2 separate regions of the Homo sapiens genome follow, and region 1 is linked to region 2. The links are contacts of gene promoters, found by promoter capture Hi-C in human tissues and cell types (Jung and others, 2019). All regions are on one chromosome and are shown on one strand. The core of a region is centred on a gene start or on the middle of the fragment in contact, and the rest is flanking DNA. Distances in the headings are between cores, read along the strand shown. Region 1 has its middle 18 kb from the start of KRTAP5-7. Region 2 holds the start of KRTAP5-10 (keratin associated protein 5-10).

The links. Contacts are between HindIII fragments. The study calls those that stand out against the background at their distance.
Region 1: a fragment that was not itself captured here is called in contact with the fragment with the promoter of KRTAP5-10 in region 2 in 2 of the 25 tissues and cell types used here (H1 embryonic stem cells and mesendoderm cells).

Annotation. Positions count from the first base shown.
Region 1 is chr11:71,505,284-71,512,929 of GRCh38, reverse strand. It overlaps the pseudogene S100A11P3. Among named protein-coding and RNA genes, the nearest start is that of KRTAP5-7, 18 kb to the left of the region's middle. RefSeq lists an enhancer at 6,969-7,559. The HindIII fragment of the contact is 5,651 bases long and covers 2,391-7,646 here.
Region 2 is chr11:71,562,114-71,569,997 of GRCh38, reverse strand. It overlaps KRTAP5-10 (keratin associated protein 5-10), which reads right to left and starts at 4,435. Exons shown (of 1, transcript NM_001012710.2): 1 at 3,263-4,435. The coding sequence starts at 4,410. The coding sequence ends at 3,802. It also overlaps the pseudogene KRTAP5-13P. RefSeq lists an enhancer at 3,233-4,048. The HindIII fragment of the contact is 12,390 bases long and covers 1-7,884 here.

The sequences.
Region 1 (7,646 bases), core at 3,967-6,466, 58 kb after region 2:
AAGCTTAGTTTGGCTGGATATGAAATTCTGGGTTGAAAATTCTTTTCTTTAAGAATGTTGAATATTGGCCCTCACTCTATTCTGGCTTGTGGAGTTTCTGCCGAGAGATCTGCTGTTAGTCTGACGGGCTTCCCTTTGTGGGTAACTCGACCTTTCTCTCTGGCTGCCCTTAACATTTTTTCCTTCATTTCAACTTTGGTGAATCTGACAATTATGTGTCTTGGAGTTGCTCTTCTCAAGGAGTATCTTTGTGGCGTTCTCTGTATTTCCTGAATCTGAAAGTTGGCCTGCCTTGCTAGATTGGGGAAGTTCTCCTGGAAAATATCCTGCAGAGTGTTTTCCAACTTGGTTCCATTCTCCCCGTCACTTTCAGGTACACCAATCAGATGTAGATTTGGTCTTTTCACATAGTCCCATATTTCTTGGAGGCTTTGTTCATTTCTTTTTATTCCTTTTTCTCTAAACTTCCCTTCTCACTTCATTTCATTAATTTCATCTTCCATCACTGATACCCTTTCTTCCAGTTGATCACATCAGCTCCTGAGGCTTCTGCATTCTTCACGTAGTTCTCAAGCCTTGGCTTTCAGCTCCATCAGCTCCTTTTAGGACTTCTCTGCATTGGTTATTCTAGTTATCCATTCGTCTAATTTTTTTTTCAAAGTTTTTAACTTCTTTGCCATTGGTTTGAATTTCCTCCTGTAGCTCGGAGTAGTTTGATCGTCTGAAGCCTTCTTCTCTCAGCTCATCAAAGTCATTCTCTGTCCACTTTGTTCTGTTGCTGGTGAGGAGCTGTGTTCCTTTGGAGGAGGAGAAGCGCTCTGCTTTTTAGTTTCCAGTTTTTCTGCTCTGTTTTTTCCCCATCTTTGTGGTTTTGTCTACTTTTGGTCTTTGATGATGGTGATGTACAGAAGGGTTTTTGGTGTGGATGTCCTTTCTGTTTGTTAGTTTTCCTTCTAACAGACAGGACCCTCAGCTGCAGGTCTGTTGGAGTTTGCTAGAGGTCCACTCCAGACCCTGCTTGCCTGGGTATCAGCAGCGGTGGCTGTAGAACAGCAGATCTTGGTGAACCGCAAATGCTGCTGCCTGATCATTCCTCTGGAAGTTTTGTCTCAGAGGAGTACCCGGCTGTGTGAGGTGTCAGTCTGCCCCTAATGGGGGGTGCCTCCCAGTTAGGCTGCTCAGGGGTCAAGGACCCACTTGAGGAGGCAGTCTGCCCATTCTCAGATCTCCAGCTGCATGTTGGGAGAACCACTACTCTCTTCAAAGCTGTCAGACAGGGACATTTAAGTCTGCAGAGGTAACTGCTGTCTTTTTGTTTGTCTGTGCCCTGCCCCCAGAGGTGGAGTCTACAGAGGCAGGCAAGCCTCCTTGAGCTGTGGTGGGCTCCACCCAGTTTGAGCTTCCCAGCTGCTTTGTTTACCTAATCAAGCCTGGGCAATGGCAGGCGCCCCTCCCCCAGCCTTGCTGCCACCTTGCAGTTTGATCTCAGACTGCTGTAATAGCAATCAGCAAGACTCCATGGGCGTAGGACCCTCCGAGCCAGGTGCAGGATATAATCTCCTGGTGTGCCGTTTTTTAAGCCCATTGGAAAAGCGCAGTATTAGGGTGGGAGTGACCTGATTTTCCAGGTGCCATCTGTCACCCCTTTCTTTGACTAGGAAAGGGAACTCCCTGACCCCTTGCACTTCTCCAGTGAGGCAATGCCTCGCCCTGCTTCGGCTCACACACGGTGTGCTGCACCCACTGTCCTACACCCACTGTCTGGCACTCCCTAGTGAGATGAACCCGGTGCCTCAGATGGAAATGCAGAAATCACCTGTCTTCTGCATCACTCATGCTGGGAGCTGTAGACCGGAGCTGTTCCTATTCAGCCATCTTGGCTGAACCAGGCCATCTTGGATCCACCCAAGTATTTTCTGGGTCTGGAGGGTCCTGGTTCTCTTATGGACTCAGCGATGTGAAGTCATAGAATGCTGAGGTGTGGTTAAACTTTGGTTTGATCTCATCCTCAGCCCGAACACCTTCCCCTCTCCCAAGGCAGCAGTGAAGGGATGGTTCATGGATACGACCTAGGGGAAGGAACAGGGACCCTGACAGTGTGTGCTTCCGGATTTCTGTCTCCGGAACTTGACTGCTCCTCACAACACATAAGGCAAAACTGTCATAAATGTAAGGAAAGAATTTTTCTACTGGAGGCTAGGGACTTCAGGTTGCCATGTTTTGAAGCCTCCTGAAAACTCTAAGGTAGACATCCACTTCTGGAAAAACAGTGAACCCGGTATGTTTCTGGCTATGATTGAAAATTCTTGGTAAAAACAGACATCTGTTTAAGTGCATGGCTGTGTTTCCTGTAGCATTAGAGAAATTCCACGAGATTAGGAAGCATGAAGCCAGGGTGAATACTCTGAGGGATCTGGTAGTTCTAGGAACTTCGGGGCCTTGGATTTAAGAACTTCATGGTGAAGACTAAATCAATTGAATCTCAGCATAAAGCTGAGACATCGAACGGCTTCCCACTCCATGAAAGAGTTGCCTCGAGAGGTTCCGTATGTTGGTAACAGCAGAGGGCATTAAAATGAGTCTCTCTCAGTCTGGGAGCTGGATGGGAAAAAAAATCATGCCTGAAATTTCGCACCCACGTGCCGTTGTCACCTAGGTGAGGAGTTTACATTTTAATTCTCACAATCCCCAGGACACCCCTGTGCCTAGAGCCCTCGGGGTAATCCTTCCACTCTGGCTTTCTCCCCTCTATCTCTTTCTTGGGAAAATGTTTGCCCCATATTGAGTCAACACTGGAAGATCCACATTGGTTCATCTCTGATTTCCAACTTTTGAATTTGTCCTTACAATAAATTGAAGTTTCAGTGACTTGGTGCTTCAGGGACCCGTCCCCACTCTTCCCAAGGAGAACAAACCATGGTTACCATGAAGTACAATAGGTCACTAAAACGTATTCCTCCAGTCTAACTGAAACTTCATGCCCTTCTGTCAACATCTCCTGCTGGCCCCATCCCTGCTCCTCCCCACCTACCCATAGCCCCTGGTAACCACCTTTATACTTTTTCTATGAGACCAGCTTTTTAAGATTCCAGATATAAGTGAGGTCATACAATATTTGTCTTCCTGTGCCTGTCTTCTTTCACTTAGCATAATGCCCCACTAGTTATATCCACATTGTCATGAATGACAAAAATTCCTTCCTTTTAAAGGCTGTATAGTATTCCATTGTGTATATACACATTTTCTCTACCCATTCATCCATTGATAGACAGTTAGTTTGCTTCCATATCTTCGCTATTGTGAATAATGCTGAAATAAATGTGGGAGTGAATATATCTCTTCAGCAAATCAATGTCAGTTCCTTTGGATATATACCCAGAAGTGGAATTGCCAGATAATATGGTAATTCTATTTTTAGTTTTTGAGGAACCCCCATACTATTTTTTTAACAGCTGTACTAATTTACATTCCCATTAACAGTGTACAAGTGTTCCCTTTTTATCTACATCTTCATCAACACTTGTTATCTTTTGTCTTTTTGATAACAGTGATTCCAACAGGTGTGAGGTTATATCTCATTGTGGCTTTAATTTGCATTTTCCTGATTCTTAGAGATGTTGAGCATTTTTCATATATCTGTTGGCTATTCATATCTCTTCATTTGAGAACTGTTCAGATCCTTTGCTCATTTTTAATTGAATTGTTTTCTTGCTGTTAAGTTGGTTGAATTCCTTATATATTTTTGATATTCACACCTAATCAGATGTAAGGTTGAGAAATGATTGATGTTTGTGTGTCGATCTAAATCCTCAGACCTTGCTGAACTCACTGTTATTAGTTCTTGGGTTTTTGTTGTAGATTCCTTGAGATTTTATACATAGACTACTATGGTGTGTGCAAATATTTCTTCATTTCTCATCTGTATATCTTCTAGTTCTCTTGCCTTATTGCCCTGGCTAGAACTTCATTATGTTGAAGAGTGGTGAGAGTGGACACTTGTAATTGCTCCAAATGTTAGGGGAAAACATTCAGTTATCACCATTAAGCCTAAAATTGGCTATAGGTTTTTTGTAGATGATGAAGTGACACTCTAATCCTAGTTTGCTGAGTTTTTTAAAAATTATGAACAGGTGGTAAAAATTTCCAAATGCTTTCTTTGTGTCCCAATTGATGCAATTGTGTGAGTTTTCTTCTACAGCCTGTTAGCACAGTGGATCACATTGATTTACTTCCAAATGTGGAGCTAGTCTTACATGCTTGGAATAAACTCCACTTGGTCATGGTTTGTAATTCTTTAATATATTGCTGGATTCTATTTGCTTTCTTTTGTTGAAGATTTTGTGTCTATGTTCATGAGGGGCATTGGTTATTTCTTTTTTTGTATTGTCGTTGTCTGGTTTTGCTATCAGGGTAATACTGGCCCCTTAAAATGAATTTGGAAGGGTTCTCTTCTCCACTATTTTCCAGAGATTATGTAGAATTGGTGTTCAGTCTTTAAAAATTTGGTAATTCTCTGCATCTGAAAATTTAAAATTCCAACTTTCTTTTGGCATTTTAAAACTACACATTCAATTCCCCTAATAATTATAGAGCTATCCAAATTATCTATTTTGTCCTGGCTGAATGTTGGTAGTTTGTGCTTTTTGAGGAGTTGGTCTGCTTCACATAAGCTGTTGAATTTCTATGTGTAGAGTTGCTTGCACCGTTTGCTCATTATCCGGTTCATGTCTGTGGGGTCTGTAGTGATATCCCCAAACTTGGTATCCATTCCTGAAGCTTATAGTTTGTATCCTTGTATCCTCTCTTTTTTTTCTTTGTTGGTCTAGCAAGAGGTTTGTTAATTTTACTGATTTTTTTTAAAGAACTAGATTTTTGTCTCATTTATTTTCTCTATTTTTTGTCTCTAATTTCACTGATTTCTGTTCTTATCTGGATTTTTTTCTTCTTCTGCTTATGTTGGGTTTGATATTTTGAATATATTTTTATAGCTTTGTATGTATTATGATTTATATTACATTTTAAGTATATTTTTATAGAGTTCCTAGTGATCTTTTATTGAATACCAGATAAAGAGTATAAAAAACTGAGAAAGGTTTTGAGTGATGTTACTTTCTTGCAGAGACCATTTGTTTTCCTTCTGCGAAACAGTTAGACAAGCAGCAGATCACATTGATCCAGTGAGGCAGTAAGATAAGAGGCCAGGCTTTATTCTTTGTGAAGGAGTCTCTATTTCTGGCCTGTACTTCTCCCAGTATATAGTCTTGAGGGGTTTCAATAGAAAGCCTTAAGTTTTTACCAAGCCCTTTCTTATTAATCCTAAAATTAAATATTTATTTTCCAGAGCTACAAAACCTCCATAATCTCTGTTTTGCTTTAAAGGCTCTTCATGGATGCTTTTTGCTTAGCTCCTTGTCCTCTTTCCCCAGGCAGTTTCATAATCTTCAAGGGAAGAGGAGCTGCTGCACACTGGACTCACTTCTCTGAGCTCTTCTTTTCCCTGGAAGCTTTGCCCTGCAAGCTCTGGCTGCCTTTGTCACCCTAAAGTCTGATTTTCGGAAGGAACTGCCAATGCCTCAGCTGCTTTCTGCTTGTGCTCTTGTTCTCTCTGTCGCTAACGAATGGGCAGAGGCCCCACGGGAGGAGAGTGGAGCGCTGGCACCTGATGCATTCATTTCCCTTCTCACCAGGATCCAGGCACCTCCTGTCCTGGACACCTGGGTTTCTCTCTAGTGCTTTCAACTGCTGTTTTGTGTTAATTTTTTCTGGCTTTCCTACTTGTTCTCAGTGATTCTGTAGCTCAAATATGAGCTGTTCCATCAGAACCAGAAGAGGAGTCGCAATACGTATTTGAAAAATACACGAATAAATTATCTGCAAATTAAAAATAATCAGCTCTCCAGGAGTAGCTTCTATGGTGGGTGATGGCGACTATCTGAGGCTGGTGTCACAGGGGTAAAAGAGTTTACCAAGAAACTTGTAGGTTTTAAAAAAAGGCAGATTTATTAAAGAAAGGAAGGAAGTACATTGCAAGAAGGCAATGGGCAGGCCAGGAGAAGAGGAGCTGACTGCAAGGAGACAAAGGCTTGCAGGGGATTTTACAGGATGGTTCCTGGGCCATGTGCTGAAGAGGGCTGCATACAATACCTACAATGCCAAGGTTGCAGTGAGCTAACTTGCATTTTTCTATCAGCTGAGGGTCTGGTGATACCTGGGCATGGGAAGATTGTGAGCTATATGCACAGGAGGGCTGTGTGTGCTGGACTGTGAAGAAATGCAGACTTGTAGCTTATCTGCTTTCTCTTTTTGCTTTCCCTTGGTCCTGCCACCCTGGCTCCTTTTCCCTGATTAGGACGCCACAGCTTCCATGTGTTTTGATTTGTTAGATCTGACATGGGCCAATGAATTGTTTTTTCTTTAACTATATACAATCCTATTTTTCCCCTCATATAAGCCAATCCTAATGGAATAGAATCATCCTTTTCAAAAGCTTTTTACCAGAGGTCTCCACACCACTCCCAAGTACAGCCTCCCATGCCTCACTCAGCTACAACCTGGCAAAAATCTCCAGCCCTGCAGAGACTGAGTGGTGCATTGAGTCCCTGATTGCTGTTTTCCAGAAGGATCCTGGAGAGGATGGTTACAACTGCTCTCTCCAAGACGGAGTTCCTAAGCTTCATGAACACAGAAGAGGCTGCCGTCACAAAGAAGCAGAAGGACCGCAGTGTCCTTGACTGCATGACGAAAAGACTGGATGTCAACAGTAACAGGCAGCTAGATTTCCAAGAATTTCTTAATTCAAAATTGGCAGCCTGGCTGTGCATTGCCATGACTCCCTCCTCAAGGCTATCCCACCCTACAAGCAGACCTGAGGGCCCCTTCGGCCTGGCCTCCAAAGCCACCCCCTTTCCTTCCAGCTTCCTGTCACCATCTCCTCCTCACAGCCCACACGTCCCCTGAGCCCAGCACACCTACCTCCTCTGGCAGGCCCCGCCTGCGGGTAGAAATAAAACAGTTTTCACTCGCATCGGTGTGAAGAGACCACCAAACAGGCTTTGTGTGAGCAACAAGGCTGTTTATTTCACCTGGGTGCAGGCGGGCTGAGTCTGAAAAGAGTCAGCGAAAGGAGATAGGGGTGGGGCCGTTTTATAAGATTTGGGTAGGTAAAGGAAAATTACAGTCAAAGGGGGGTTGTTCTCTGGCAGACAGGAGTGGAGGTCACAAGGTGCTCAGTAGGGGAGCTTTTGAGCCAGGATGAGCCAGGAGAAGGAATTTCACAAGATAGTGTCATCAGTTAAGGCAGGAACAGGCCATTTTCACTTCTTTTGTGGTGGAATGTCATCAGTTAAGGCAGGAACCGGCCATCTGGATGTGTACGTGCAGGTTACAGAGGACATGATGGCTTAGCTTGGGCTCAGAGGCCTGACAACGTCACATTTTTAAAACATGAAAAAAAAAAGCTTTTTATTAACTACTCTGCTTAATTCAACTCCTTACTTCATATGTAGAGTTGATATAGCTGAATGCCTGCTGGATAAGTCAATAAAGGAAACCCTGACACTGCCACTTTGCAATGATAAAATAACTCATCAAATTGAAGATTTAACTGCAAACATAAAAACTGAGTAAACACAGTCTCTTCACATACA
Region 2 (7,884 bases), core at 3,186-5,685:
AGCCTCAGGGTCTGAGATAGCTTCTGCATGTTTAGCCACGTGTTTGAGATTTCACTGTTTTGGGCATCAACGTGAACACCTTTCTCAGTGTTCAGGGCCTGGGAATGTTCACAGCACAGCGTGGCTTCAAGCCTGCTGGGAAAACGTGCAGCTGGCCAGGTCACAGGGTGGGCAGGACACAGAAAGAAGTGGGTCCTGGAGGACTCTGCACTGGCTCAGGAACAAGGGAGCCCCCCTTCCCTCCTCCTTTCTCTCTATGCCTCTCCCAGCCCTTCGTCCATCCAAGCAGTCACCATGCTTGAAATTCTACTCCCAAAGCTATTTTTAGAGTTGGCTGGTCTCTTCCCTGTCATGCTGCGTCTCAGACCCTCTCACATCTGCCCCGCTCGGCCTTCTCGCCACCTGGCTGTGGAGGACCTCAGTTACCCCTCCACCCTATCGTAGGGGCTCCCCAGCTCCCGTCCAAGCACCCCAAGGCCAGGCGCCACGCTGCGTTCTTCTCGCGCTCCTGGTGCATGCAGTGGTGCTTAGCAAACTGTGCCGCATGAAGGAGTGGATCACCCAACAGCCTGATGTGATCAGGAAGCGCAAAGAAAGGGGGTGCTTTAGGGCCAGGAGGGAGGTTGAAAGGCTCATTCAAAAGGAACAGCAGGAAAAGGGCCACACTGAAAACAGGACTCGTGAGGGGAAGGGATCGCTTATTCAAAGGACTCACAAGGTCAAGGCTCAGAATTTGCAGAGCCCAATAGACAAATTGCAACAGGAGCTTTCCTTGGGACCATGCCTGGGAGGAGAGGGTTTAGAATGTCAGGGTAGAGAGAGGTGGTGCAAGAGAGGAAGCAGGAGCGGTCTCATGCACCATGACAGCCACCCATGGTGAGATGAGGGTGGTGAGGGGTTGTGCCCCGCACAGGGCCTGTGTAGGCTCTTCCTGTTCCAAATACTGCTGCTCCAACATTCTAGAAAACAGTCACCCCAGGGCTGTGATTCACGGCTTTATGCTGATACATTGGTCTCTGTCTGGAGCATGTGGATGAGAGCCAATATGGCTGTGTGTTAAAGATCAGATCTTGTACTGACAGCAAATAGGGACACAGCAGCTGGACTTGGAGCAGCAGGACCTGCAGCAGCTGGACTGGGAGCAGCAGGGCTTGCAGCAGCTGGACCGGGAACAGCAGGACTTGCAGCAGCTGGACCGGGAACATCAGGACTTGCAGCAGCTGGACCGGGAGCAGCAGGGCTTGCAGCAGCTGGACTGGGAGCAGGTTGATTCACAGCCTGAGGAGCAGCAGCAGAGTTTGCAGCAACTGCACTGAGAATGTTGCCCAGTATGAAGTGCAGTGGCGCAGTCACAGGTCACTGCAGCCTCCACCTCCTGGTCTCAAGTAATCCTCCTGAGTAAACAAGACTACAAGTGGGTGTCACCATGCCCAGGTACTTAAATTTTTTTTTTTTGTAGAGATAAGATCTCTCCTTATTGTCCAGGCTGGATTTGATCTCTTGGCCTCAAGTGATCCTCCTGCCTTGGCCTCCCAAATTGCAGGGATGACAGGCATGAGCCACCACATGCAGCCTCTTTTATGTCTGGTATCATTTCCTTTCATTGTTCATTAGCTCCTTTGGAAACAGTACGCTACCACTGTGATCTGTTTCACAGCAGGCTTCCTAGCTTTCTTTTATTGCCTATAGGGACTTACTGAGGGCCCTTGCACCCACTCTCCACTGGAGAGAGGAAAACCTTCCCCATTTCAGGAGCTGAATTCAAAATTCATGCTGTGCTTTTCCAGCACACACCTGTTGGCTCTTTTGAGGTTCCCCTGTATTCGGCTCTGTTAGATGTTTCTTTGCTTTCTCCTACACAGACACTGAAACCCTGGGGGACTGTGGCTCTTGTAAATTTATCCCCACCTTCTTGGACTTTGAGGTTCACTTGTTTTTTTTCTTGAGACACTATCTCACTTTAGGTTGCTGAGGCTGGATCCCAGGGGTGCGATCACAGCTCACTGCAGCCTCAAACTCCCAGGCTCAAGCCATCCTCCCACCTCAGCCTTCCACGTAGCTGAGGCTACAGGTGTGAGCCACCATGCCCAGCTTACCTGGTTTTGTTATGTCTCCAGCATGCATTTTCGGTTTTGTTACCTAGTTGCTCGGTGTCCTGTGGGTTGTGGGAATGTACAGGGCCCATATGTAATGAACTCTGCGTTCATGTCTGCTGTCACCTTCTGGAGTTTCCCAGTTTGGATTTTTGAGTGAACTGTCTTAAGCAGCATTTCCTTTTAACGTCGTGAAACTAACGATAGCCATGTCCCCTAGCAAGATGCACCTTTGACACACTTTTATTCCCTTTCCTAAATGTGGCTGAATTAATCTAAGCCTTTATTTCTAGATTATTTCATTTTTCCTTACATTGCATCTCTTTTCTCTCAGAAATTTGTCTTGGAAATTCCCACTCTGCTCTTCCCCGGCAGTATCAGCAGTCGCTTAGATCTGTGAGTGTTCTGTGGGAGCTCATTTCTCACCAGCACTCCCTGTGTGCTGTCTTCCCTCCACCTTTTCCCTCCGGGTTCGCTTGGCTGGAGATTGTCCTCAGATCACTCTTGTCTCCTCCTCCCCAGTGCGTGATTTCTAAAGCCTTGCCTGTGACACTGGTCAGAGAACAGGCTCAGCGTGGTGGCATGTCACCATGAAACAGATGGACTTGGCTCAGGGTCCCCAAATGTGTCACTTCCCAGGAACTCTCCTTTCCTGCCGGGAGACTGAGCTCCGAGGACACCTTGGGCCATTCTGTAACTTCCTGGTTACCTTTAGTTATGGAAAGCCGTTGACCTCATAATTGTAAAAGGCTAATTGAATGTTTGAATCAGAGTGCGTTGGAGCTCAGCGGTGCTTCACTCCTCCCTCCTCCGACCTTGCCCTGCCTGGGGTCCTTCCGAGGCCCCAGAGGAGAGCGGGAAGCTGGAAGCCATGGGTCTTGTGCAAAGCCCTGCTTGGCTGGTCGTCAGGACTCAGGGCCTGCCTGCCCCTCTGCGCCTCTAGGGCGGGCATTGAATGCTGAATCCTCCCGGGCTTTGCCCTCTTCTCCTGCGAGCAGAGACTGAAGATATTTGAGGCTGAGAGGAGGACAGAAGGGAATGGCAGGTTTTTTTGTGAATGTACCAGGCCTGCTGGCAGGCGTTTCCCAGCTTAGCTGACAGATCAGAACGCAGAATCAGTCACTGCACAGGAAAGGGGTTGGACAGAATTGCACCAAGCATGCAGCTGATTTACAGACATGAGAGGCTTTATTGTAAGGAAATTCATTCATTACTTTGTTATTGTTTTTAAATAGATGGAGACAACAGGAAGGAAGGAGACCTTCCTGGTCACAGGTGGCCACTGGAGAACAGGCAGCGAGCGGCCCTGGAGGATCCAGGGTCCCAATGGTGGTTGAGAAGCTGGTTCTTAGTGATCACTGAGCAACATTGGCCTGGCCTTGTGGGGTCAGACCTTGCATCTCAGTCAGCCGAGGGAGAAGAAGAAGATGGTCCACACCCAAGTGCAGGGAACACCATGGCAGTTGGCTGGGTGCCCGCGTCCAGGCAAGGCCACCTCCTGCATCAAGGAAACATGCATTTCCGGAGTGAGGAGGCTGAAGGCAGGGCCCAGTGGAGAGCTGAGCCATGGAAGGAGGTGCGTGCATGGATGATGAGCTGGAGAAGGGGCAGGTGCCTCAGGGAGGATGCGTGGGATGAATTAATTCAGGGAAATCATAACAAATGCTTTCACCAAACAGGTGAAACCTGAAGGTCTGGGTTCAGAGCCTCAGATCTTACACTGGCAGCACACGGGGACACAGCAGCTGGACTGACAGCAGCAGGGCTTGCAGCAGCTAGACTGGCAGCACACGGGGACACAGCAGCTGGACTGGCAGCAGCAGGGATTGCAGCAGCTGGACTGGCAGCAGGATCCACAGCCTGAGGAGCAGCAGCAGGGCTTACAGCAATTGCACTGGGAGCAGCCACAAGAACCACAGCCCCCCTTGGAGCCCCCACAGGAACCACAGCCACCTTTGGAGCCCCCACAGGAGCCACAGCCCCCCTTGGAGCCCCCACAAGAACCACAGCCCCCCTTGGAGCCCCCACAGGAGCCACAGCCCCCCTTGGAGCCCCCACAGGAACCACAGCCCCCTTTGGAGCCCCCACAAGAGCCACAGTCCCCCTTGGAGCCCCCACAGGAGCCACAGCTGGAGCAGGAACAGGCTGGCACACAGCAGCACACGGGCTTGCAGCAGCAGACGGGCACACAGCAGCTGGAGCCACAGCCCCCACAGCCAGAGCCATAGCCCCCACAGCCGGAGCCACAGCCCCCACAGCCGGAGCCACAACCCCCACAGCCGGAGCCACAGCCTCCGGAGCAGCCACAGCAGCCCATGATTCTGGTAGATTGAGGGTGGATCAGGTAGAGGAGCAGGTGAGAGGGAGGTGCAGGTGTGGAGCTCCCTGAGCCCGGGCTCTTTATATACCTGTCCAGATGTCAGGCAGGACACAGGGTCCCTTTCTTGTGACTGTTTACATTATTTTTCCAGAGCTCTGTTTTTTTCCTTTTTGCTAGTGACTTCCTCCTGGCTCAGTTGAGCATCTACTTTCTTTGTATGCTAAATTTGTCTTTTTCCCCGTTTGTTTTGGCCCCTATAATTAAAACCTCAACTCCAGGCTGTCTGGTACTTCTTGCAAAGCTCCAGGGTGCTGGTCACCTGCTCTCTGCTGACCACATGTGACCAATGGGCAACAGCCTCTGCCCACATGCTCTCATCTTTCCTGTGTTAACTCCCCCAGTAATATTAATTTTACATTTTCAGATTTCAAAAGTTATCCATGGTCTTTATATTTTACTCATACCAGTCTCAGCTTTCTGGGTGTGTTAGACCATTCTTTGCATTGCTCTAAAGAAATACTTGAGGCTGGGTAATTTATAAAGGAAAGAGGTTAGAATGGCTCATGGTTCTGCAGGCTGCACAAGCATGGCACCCACCTCTGCTCAGCTTCTGGGGAGGCCCTCAGGGAGGTTTTCCTCATGGTGGAAGGCGAAGCAGGAGTAGGCACGCCACATGGTGAGAATGGGAGCAAGGGGTGAGGAGGGGCCACACACTTGCGAACAACCAGATCTGAGTGAACACACTCATCGCCAAGGAGATGGCGCTAAGCCAGTTATGAGGGATCCGCCCCCATGACCTAAACACCTCCTTGCAGGCCCCTCCTTCAACACTGGGGATTACATTTCGACAAGAGATTTGGAGGGGACAGCCCAACTATGTCATTATCCCCCTGACCCCTCAAATCTCATGTCCTTACATCACAAAATAGGATCATCTCTTCTCAACAGTCCTCTCAATGTCTTGACTCATTCCAACATCAAGTCTGAAGTCCCAAGTCCAAGTTCCTTCTACCTATGAACCTGTGAAAATCAAAATACATTATTTACTTACAAGATGCAATGAGGGTAGAAGCATTGGGTAAACATTCCCATTCCAAAAGGGAGAAGTCAGCCCAAAGGAAGGGGCTACGGACCCCATGCATGTCTGAAATCCAGCAGGGCAGCCATTAAATCTTAAAGCTCCAAAATAATGTCCTTGGACTCCCAGTCCCACATCCAGGGTACACTGGAGTGAGGGGTGGACTCCTAAGGCCTTGGGGAACTCCACCCTCGTGACTTTGCAGGGTTCACCCCCTGCAGCTGCTCTCATGGGTTGGAGTTGGGTGCCTGCAGCTTCTCCATGCTCAAGATGCAAGCTGTCAGTTGCTCTACCATTCTGGGGGCTGGAGGATGGTGTCCTCCTTCCCACTGCTCAGTTAAGCAGTGCCCCTGTGGGGATCATTTACACAAGTAAAAGATCCTTCCCCACCCCTCACCCCTGTGGTGATATCTGTGCCCTTGTTCTTCACAGGGCACCCCAGTGGGGTGTGTCCCATGCACCCGCTTCCAGCCACCCTCCTCTTTCTAGCTCACTTTCTCCAGTGCTTTCATTCCACCAGAACTCTTGGTGCATTGATACAACCACGGCTTCACTGATCCCCAACCTCTCTGATACCTCTTCTTGTTTTGTTAACAGCTTTATTGACATATCGTTCATATACCACACAATTCTCCCATTTAAGGTATACAATTCAATGCTTTTAGTATATTCACAGAGCCGTGTACCTATCACCATAATCAGTTGTAGAAAATTTCATAACCTCATGCCCTTTAGTACCCCCCACTCACTACCCCACAGGACGGTTCTCCAGGCGGCTTCAGACCAATGCAATTCTCCCCGTGTCTCACTTGTGGTTCTCAGGCGTGACTGCAGAGGGAGCTGAACCGACATTTCTGAAAGAAGACGTACAAATGACCAACAAGAGCTTGAAGGAATGCTCAGCATCATTCATCATCAGGGACACGCAAGTCAAAACCACAATGAGGTGTCCTCTCATCCCACAGAATGGCCATTATCAAAAAGGCAAAAATAAATCCTGCAGAGGAAGTGAAGAAAGGGAACTCGTATGCTGTTAGTGGGAAGTTGTACAACCACTAAGGAAAACTGTATGGAGATTCCTCAAAAAGCTAAAAATAGAGCTAACCCAGCAATCCCACTATGGGGTGTGTATCCAAAGGAAAAGAAATCAGTGTGTTGAAGAGATATCTGCACCCCATGTTTATCACAGCACTGCTCACGATAGCCATGATATGAAAGCACCTAAGTGCTTGTCAACAGATGAATGGAAAACATGGAAAAGTAATGAAAAGGAAAAGATGGTGTATACACACAATGGAATTCTATTTAACCCTAGAGCAGAACAAAATTCTGCCCTATGTGACAATACAGGTGAGCTTGGAGGACATTATGCTAAATGAAATAAGCCAGGCACAGAAAGATGAACTGCATGATCTCACTCACAGGTGCAAGCTAAAGAAGTTGATATCTCACTGGTCCCCATAAACATGTACAATGATCATGCTTCAATTAAAATATTAATAAAGAAAGAAAAAGAATAACTGTAGAATATGCTGGGAATGCAACATCCTGAGTTAGGGAGGGACTGGCCAGAAGAGTCGGGCTTTGTCCCAGTTCCTAGAAACAGGATATTCTTTCGTGCTTTAGTGCAGTGAATCCTGTAGCCCTGGGACATAAGACCGAGGGCAGGCGGCTTTCTGGGATCCCTCAGCTGTGGTGTGAGTGGGGCACACATGGATAAGACTCAGCTCACCTGGGAAGCTTTGCTGAGGCTAGAGGGCTCCCAATGAATCCGAGGCTCCTGTTCTCCCTTGCTGCCTGTCTGTAACTGGTATACCCACTTCCTGTGACATATGTGAGTGTCTCACCTGAGTCTGATAAATGGGTAACATTAGTAGTAGCCAGAGGCTACTACTAATTTACTTTTTGTCTCTCTCTATTTTTCTATTCTTGAAATTTCATACCTGTGAAATTATATGATATGTGGTCTTTTATAATTTCCTTCTTTCACTTAGTGTAATGTTTTGTGGTTCATCCATGTTGCAGCCTGAAACAGAACTTCATTACTATGATAAATTATTTACACTAATCTTCCTTTGTATGAATACACCATTCATTCCTCAGTTGGCAGACATTAGACTGTTTCCACCTTTTGGCTGTTGTGAGTAATGCTGCTGTGAACATGGGTGTGCCAGTTTTTGCATGGAATGTGTTTTCATTTCCCTTGGGAACATCCTTATGAGCAGAATTGCTGGGCCCTATGGTAACTCTCTGCTTAAGTTTTTGAGGAACTGCAGACTGTTTTCCACAGTGGCTGAGCAATTTACATTCCCACAGCAGTGCATGGAGGTTCCAGTGTTTCTGCATCCTTGTCAACAGTTGTTATTTTATTTTATTTTTATTTATTTATTTTT